Regions from separate parts of the Homo sapiens genome. Here region 1 is linked to region 2. The links are contacts of gene promoters, found by promoter capture Hi-C in blood cells and fetal thymus (Javierre and others, 2016). All regions are on one chromosome and are shown on one strand. Each heading gives the region's core, a stretch centred on a gene start or on the middle of the fragment in contact. The rest is flanking DNA. Distances are from core to core; before and after follow the strand shown.

What was found. The method cuts DNA at HindIII sites, captures the fragments that hold promoters and counts their contacts. A CHiCAGO score of 5 or more calls a contact.
Region 1: the fragment with the promoter of SLC7A1 here is called in contact with the fragment with the promoter of ALOX5AP in region 2 in 1 of 17 cell types (non-activated CD4 T cells); the score reaches 5.9 in non-activated CD4 T cells.

Annotation. Positions count from the first base shown.
Region 1 is chr13:29,594,339-29,598,509 of GRCh38, reverse strand. SLC7A1 (solute carrier family 7 member 1) reads left to right here and starts at 2,822. Exons shown (of 13, transcript NM_003045.5): 1 at 2,822-3,094. RefSeq lists silencers at 2,456-3,695, 3,864-4,158 and an enhancer at 3,806-3,935. The HindIII fragment of the contact is 14,376 bases long and covers 2,087-4,171 here.
Region 2 is chr13:30,733,611-30,737,186 of GRCh38, reverse strand. ALOX5AP (arachidonate 5-lipoxygenase activating protein) reads right to left here and starts at 1,644. Exons shown (of 5, transcript NM_001629.4): 1 at 1,512-1,644. The coding sequence starts at 1,581. All of the region lies in intron 2 of LOC124903146 (a long non-coding RNA gene), which reads left to right. The HindIII fragment of the contact is 8,013 bases long and covers 1-3,576 here.

The DNA.
Region 1 (4,171 bases), core at 1,573-4,072, 1.1 Mb after region 2:
CTCACGGTTTCTCTGAACCTGTAATGTGAGTCTTGACCTGCCTAAAAACTGGCTTTGCTTAAAACATGTAGCCCTCTTTATCAGCATCCTCTAATGTTTTGCTGAGATCTTGTGCGTAACTATTTTTTCCCTGGTTCATACTGAATCCTTTTTGCTGAGAAGTCACTTGCTCATGGGGCTTGTCTTATTGTCTTTTTGAAGACAGGACCTTGCTGAGTGGGATTGCTAAACGGAGCACAGTGCTAAAAATCTCCTGGGTTAAATGTCACCATACTCCCATCAGGGCCTGGAGCACTTGCTCTCAGAATTTACAAACATTAACTCATGTTGGCGCTCTGTGTTGCCCAAGGAGAGCATCTCTACAATTTATGAAATTCTATTTTACTGCCAGAAGTCAGCAAAGAGAAAAAGAAAGAAAGAGAGGCAGAAAGAGAAAATTCCACAGTCATATTTCAAACACCAAGGGATAGATTTTTTTCTTAAGAATATAAGATTTACAAGCTCCAAACAGGAGTGAAATAGTTTGCAGAAGCTCTCACAGCAAATGAACTGGTAGAGTTCAGATTCAAATCCTGATCTGGTGCCAAGGGCAAAGCAGGTGGTCTTTAATCCTACCAGGCTTCTCTCTGTGAGAAGGGGACATGCTTACTGTGGCCTCAGCAGACAGAGTAGGCTGCGTGGGATCTGGGAGATCTTCTGTGAATGGAAGGCATCATTTCACCACTGTGCAATTGAACTAAGATACATTGTTTTATTTATTTTTTATTGATTTTTATTATTATTTTTTTGAGACGGAGTCTCGCTCTGTCACCAGGCTGGGGCGCAGTGGTGCGATCTTGGCTCACTGCAACCGCCGCCTCCTGGGTTCAAGTGATTCTCCTGCCTCAGCCTCCCGAGTAGTTGGGACTACAGGCGTGCGCTACCACGCCCAGATCATTTTTGTATTTTCAGTAGAGACGGGGTTTCACCATGTTGGCCAGGATGGTGTCAATCTGCTGACCTCATGATCTGCCTGCCTTGCCCTCCCAAAGTGCTGGATTACAGGCGTGAGCCACCGTGACAGGCCAGATTTGTTGCTTTAAAACAAAGCATATATGGTGGCTTACTATGATGTCAAGCACTGTTCAAAGCACATTACAAAGCTGGGCAGGATGGTGCTCGCCTATATTTCCAGCTACTGGGGAAGCTAAAGTGAGGCGATCGCTTGAGCCTAGGAGTTCAAGGCTGCAGTGAGCTATGATGTTGCCACTGCACTCCAACTTGGTGACAGAGTGAGACCCACTCTCTAAAACAAAGACAAAAACACATTTTACAACTGCTAAGCCATCTGCATGTGTTCATTAAAACTTTTTCTGGGGACTTTTTCTGGCTCATCCCTGTAGTCCCGATGCTAGGGGAGGTTGAGGCAAAATGATCGCTAGACAGCTGGTATTTGAGGCCAGCCTATGCAACATATCAAAAACCCGTGTCTATATGTAGAAAAAATATTAACTAGGCGTGATGACACAAGCCTGTAGTTCCATCTGCTTGGGAGGCTGAGGCAGGAGGATGGCTTGAGCCTGGGAATTTGAAGTTCCAGTGAGCTATGATTGTACCGCTGCATTCCAGCCTGGGTGACAGAGTGAGACCCCTGTCTCTAAAAAACAAACAAATGACAACAGCAACAACAACAGAACACTTTTTCTGAAGCTAGCACCATGCAGTTATGTACTTTATAAATTGCTAGTCTAATTCCAAGGGAATAGTTCAGCAGCTGATATTTGAGAAGGACCTGTAGAAAGGATTCAAAGACCACGGACACCGTCCACTGTTTTTCTGTTTTCCTATAAGATAGAAGAAGGATGGCATTATTAATTTATGCCCTGTTTACCTATCCCAAGTCCCAGATCACTGGATCTTTAAAGATTATGATTCTCGCTTGGCTTTTGGTACAAAAGGAGACAAGGAGGGAGCTTAAAAGGTGAGCACGGTGTGATTCAGGACTGAAGCTTCTGCCACTTCCTGGGGGGTAACTGCAAAAGTGAGCCGTTCTGACTAGCCGTTTGTGCATTTGCCACTGCCAAGGGGGCACAGGTAGATTCAAGCTTTGGGGCTCTTCTGACAACTGGCAAGGATAAGGTATTAGCAAGGGCAAAGGAATAGTAATAAAATAATCCAATAACAAAGACATGAAGATTTATAATAATTTTTAGGCCGGTGCAGTGTTTCAGGACTGTAATCCTAGGGCGCTTTGGGAGGCCCAGGCGGGAGGATCGCTTGAGGCCAGGATTTCGAGGTTAAGGTGAACTGCGCTCCAGCCTGGGCAATAGAGTAACACCCTGTCTCTAAAATGAAAAGAAAACAGTTTAAACCTTTTAAGTGCATACCAAATCTTTTATTTTGGAGAAGGAAAACTGGTCTCGAGTTCCGTGTGAGCTCCCTGGGGCCCGCCGGGAGGGGGTTGGCACGGCCGGACCTGCAGCACTAGTTCTGGCCAGGGCGCTGTGGGATCTGCAGGGGACCACAGGATGCTGTGGCGCGGTGCGCTCAGATTGGCGGAGAAACGGCCACACGCCTACGGAGCTACTGAGAAGGCGAGCGGAGGCGCAGCCCGCCCGCCCGCCGCGGGAACCCCAGGTTGGGGCGCTGGGCGCGCGAAGACTCAGCCGCCCCGCCCACCAAGGGCGCGTCGGTCCCCGGCCGCAGCCTCTGGGCTGGCAGCCGCCGCCGCGCCGCGCTCCCATTGGTGCCCGGCGGTGACGCGGCCGAGCGGGCCGGGGCTGCCTGGTCCGGGGGCGGGCGTGGGGCGCGGGGCGCGGAGCGCGAGGGGCGGGGGCCGGGCGCACTGCTGATGAAACCTGGCGCCGGAACCCGCCAGCCCTCGGCGCCCATTCAGTCCGCGCAGGCAGGTGTGAGCAGCGGGTCAACTACCTGGCAGGCGCGCACGCGGCCGCGGGCTCCCGCTAACCGCAGCCTCCACTCCTCTCCCCGCGCGCCGCGCCCCCGCCCCGCCCCGCCCCGCCCGGTCTCGCCGGCCGAGCGTCCGTTGGTCCTTGAGCGCGTCCGACAGTCTGTCTGTTCGCGATCCTGCCGGAGCCCCGCCGCCGCCGGCTTGGTGAGTGCCCGGCCCCGCCAACGCAGGGGGCAGCTCCTTGGGCCCGGGTCATCACGGAGGGGGCCCTGGCGCCGCGTGGGGCCGCGGCAGGGCGGCGCGGGAGTGGCGAGGGCCCCCGCGCCGGGAACGCTGCCATCCTCTGGGAAGGGCCAGGACCAGGGCCGGGCGGGCCCCGGAGTGGGCGAGCGGGGCTGGTGCCCATGCGACTGTCGCCTCCACGGAGTCCATTTTGGCTCCCTGAAACCGCGGCGTGGTGCATGATGCAACACCGAGTGAGTAAGCGTGGGCGATCTGGCGATGCCCGCTCCGCGCGCCTGTCCGGGGACCCGCGCGCCGCTACGCACGGGGTGGTCGGGGTGCGTAGGCGGGCGGCGGGCACGGGGGCCAGACTGGGAGGCACACGGAGCCCGCCGGCGGCGAGGAGACCTTCCCTTACATGGCGCGGTGCAGAGCACCCCGCCCCGCCACGAGGTCCGGGGATGTGTCATCAGCCGTGGGTGGGGACTCTGCCCGGCCGCCCGGAGGGTGGTCCCGCGGCAGGTGGCCGGCCCAGGGACTCTGCTGCCATCCCCGCCCGGTGGCCGCCCTGACCTAGGGCGCCTGGCTCTCCGCTTGTCCCTAGAACCCGGGACGCGCCGCCTGCACCTCTCGTCTGGGTCCCCAAGATTGCTTTGAGGAAGTCTCCCCTAGGTGGGCTTCCTTGTGACCCAGTGTGGCCTGGAAAGGCCGGGTTCCTCAAGCCCTCCACATGGTTTGGAATGAGAGGAAGTTCTTCCGCCTTTAGCAAGACACCGTATTCTCAGGGTGTTCCTTTCTGCGTAGTAGAAAACTTCCCAGGCATGGGCAGGTCAGAGTCATTCTAAAACCTGCGCGTACACAGAGCGGCAGCTGCACTGTAGTACTACAACAGCCTGCTGGTTCAGCTCCTGACCCTTTCCAGGGGATGGGGGAACCAGACAGCAGTTGTGTTTGACTTGTGTGACTAGGATAGTCAGACATGTGCCTTCAGGAAAAAAATAAATAAATAACCTACATTTCCCAATACTCACGTCATCACCGCCATGCCCTCATGTGTTG
Region 2 (3,576 bases), core at 395-2,894:
CACAGGCAGGGAGGGGGCACAAGGTCCCCTGTCCACCGATGCTCCTCAGTTTTATTGATGGGTGTCAGGGGAGAGGCCAGAGGGGAGATCCTTCCAGAGCTGAATAAGTGCTAGCCACCTGCCCACCCATACAGCTACCTTTGCAGAGACTGCAGGCATTGCTGCAGGCTGACCTGTCCATCACTGTAGCTGTTTTGTTTCCTGCTCTATCCGCCTGTACCCAGAATACTATCTGGGCCAGAGCAGGGTCTCTGTACATGTATGCGGGTTGAATAATGGAATCCTTGCCAATTTACAGGGCCAAGGGAGCCCTGTGTGAAATCATAATGGCTCAAGAAAATGGTGGCCTAAATAAGCCATTTGTTCCCTCTCTGAGCTACAACTTTGTTGTGTGTAATTTAGTATAAAAATGTTTGGGTCAGAAAGCCACAAAGTGTAGTTCTTGTAGAAAACATACTTGGAGTGTGTGAAGCTGAGCCTTTCTGGTGCAGAGGCTGAGGGGGAGGCTTGCTCTGTGCCCAGAAGGCTACATCACCAGCATCTGTCCACACTCAAGATGGGGGAAAATAGAATATCCCAAAGTGATTAAATACTCAAAGTTCCAAAAACGTGACAGCATGTCAATGTTCAGTAATCACCATAAAGCTACAGCAGCTGCCCTTAGTAATTACTCTTTTTTTCTCTATCTTAATAAATATAAAACACAAAGCCACTGGAGATAGTTATGAAAGTGGTCTGAGGCAGCCCTAACTCAGAACTTTAGGAAGACAGCTCTACACAATTCTCCCTTTTCCAGATCTAGGTATCCTGCTTGTTTTTTGTTGTTGTTGTTGTTTTTAACTAATAGCAGGAATAATGGAAATGCAAACGCTGAACAGGACAATTTTCCTCTCTCTCTCTCTCTTTCTGAAGTATACACTGCATATGAAAAATGCTTCCAAAATTATACGTGCTAGAGAAAAAGAAGGTATCACCAAAAAAAAAAGTTTCTTCAGGAGAAAAAAAGAAAAAAGTAATATAGAGGAAAAATAATAAGATGATTTTTTCTACGCACCTCCCAAAATCACTTTCTTTTTAGACTGCAGATGACTGGTAACTTCAATTGCACTGCAGATGTTAGAAAAGCCCAGTATCTGAGTAAATGTGTATATCATGTTCCCTTTCTAGTCTTCTCACCTTCCACCCCTTGCCTGGCCACATTAATTAATAGTTAAAATGCTGATCATAGACACTTCGGTGAGGGTTTTAGCAAAACCTTCAAGTTGCAGCCCTGGCTCTAAAAATGGGACTGGTAATCACCACAAAAGTGAAAGACTAAGAGGAGGAAAACCCCAAATTTACACAGAAATACACACAACCCTATACATTCAAATAAAAAGAAGAAAATAAAGATAAGGTAAAAGTGTTTGTGCATGCGCACACACAGACACAATTGTTTAAGCCTGACTTCCAAACAACCATCAAAGAAAATCTCCCCTTCTGTTCTTCCCTGAGTGAAGGGCTTTCCTTACCATTCTGGACCACGCTGATGAGGGTGACGATGGCCAACAGGACAACATTGCCTACAGTTTCTTGATCCATGTTTGCTTCAGGCTCCCCAGAGAGGACTGCTCTGCCTCCAGCTGCACAACCTGCCCTGTACAGGAAGGGGAAGTGAGAGCTTGCACTCTTTCATCATTACAATTTCTGAAGATCCCCGGCACAATTACACAGTGCCTTCTTCTTCCTTTTTTTTTTTTTTTTTTTTTTTTTAACTAACCACCAAAATGCCCTGGCTGTGGTTCAGTGTGTCCCACCAGGAGAAGCAGGGCTTGGCAGAGGAGCACGCAAAGCCAGCACACTCTCCTACATTTCCTTGTCATGGGAAACTTCCCTGAGAGTCTCCAGAATGAATCCTGGACCCAAGACCATGACCAGCACGAGCCCAGCACAGGCACCAGAGAATCTGGAAGCTGCCATCATCTCTGACTTCAGCAAAGAGAAAGAAGGGAAAGTAAACCCAAAACTTTCAGGTCAGACAGAGTGGCATAAACCTGTAACCCCAGCATTTTGGGTGGCTGAGGTGGGAAGATTGCTTGGGCCCAGGACTTTGAGGCTACAGTGAGCCAATGATTATGCCACTGCACTCCAGCCTGGGCAACAGAGCAAGACTGTCTCACACACACACACACACGCACACACAAATGTAAAATGAAACTTTAAAAAAATGTATAGAACACCAAAAGATCTGTGCCCCAAATACTGTCCTTCTTTTTTTGAATTCCAAGAAAAAAAGTGAACACTTAACACACGGTAAGTAGCAGCCACATAAGGTTTGAATGAAGGAAGGAATAAATGGCAGTGGGGAGGGACAGCTGATATCTCCATTTCTTCAGAGAAAAGTAATAAAGGGAATTCATAAATTAAACCAAAGAATTCAAACCAAACCAAAGAATTCAGGTAAAAGGCAGAAATGGAGTTACAGATGATCCCTAAGGGAAATTCCCAAAGGGAACTGACTTTTCTGAGGCAATCGCAGAAACACCTTCCTGGAAATTCTTTTCAACTGAATAAGAGTAGAGTGGCTGTGCTTTCTGAGAAAGTATAAGAGTGGACCTGCTGGGTGGGTGAGGTGGCTGCCTGGTATTCTGCAGCTCAGATCAGTGTGAATGGCAATCCCTCTGAGGTTACATGGAAAATGCAAAATACCTGCAATCTTTGTCCCAGACTTAGCTATTTGGCATTGGTTAAGAGGTGCTTTTATCAAAACTTCACTTTGAAAGGGAACATGGACCACTGTAACTAGTGGCAGCAGGGAGGGCTGCATCTCGGCACGGAAGAGGTCAGTGTAGGGGAAGATATTGCTCCCTCATAGGTACAGTGCCAGAGGCCCGCTTCAATGCCCTCGGTTCAGCTGAGAGAGAAAGGCTGATGAAGGCAGCGTGCAGAGTTGTGTGCGGGGAAGCCAGCAGCCAGGGCTGTCGGGCTGGTCATGACACACTTGGGTACTCCCTGAGTACCTAGGGCACTTTGTAGAGTATAGACTTTATATTAGCCAAGGCTCTCCAGAGAAACTGAACCAATATATAAATAAGTCTCCTCATATATATATATTGCAGATTTATAATAGAAATTGGTTCACATGCTCATGGACACCATGAAGTTTCATGGTTTGCCATCTGCAAGCTGGAGACTCAGAAAAGCTGCTGGTGGAGACCAGTCTGCATTCAAAGGCCTGAGCATCAAGGAGGGCAATGGTGCAAGACCCAGTCTGAATCCAAAAGCTGGAGAACAAGGGGCTCCAGTGTCCAAGGGCAGGAGAAGATGGAGGGCAATGGTGCAAGACCCAGTCTGAATCCAAAAGCTGGAGAACAAGGGGCTCCAGTGTCCAAGGGCAGGAGAAGATGGATGGCCCAGCTCAAGAAGAAGAGGGAATTTGCCCTTCTGCCCGCTTTTTGTTCTATTCAGGCCCTCAGTGGATTGATGACACCCACCATATTGGTGAGGGTGGGAATTCTTTACTTAGTCCGCTGATTCCAGTGCTGATCTCTTTCAGAAACACCCTCCCTAACACACCCAGAAAAAAACATTTTACCA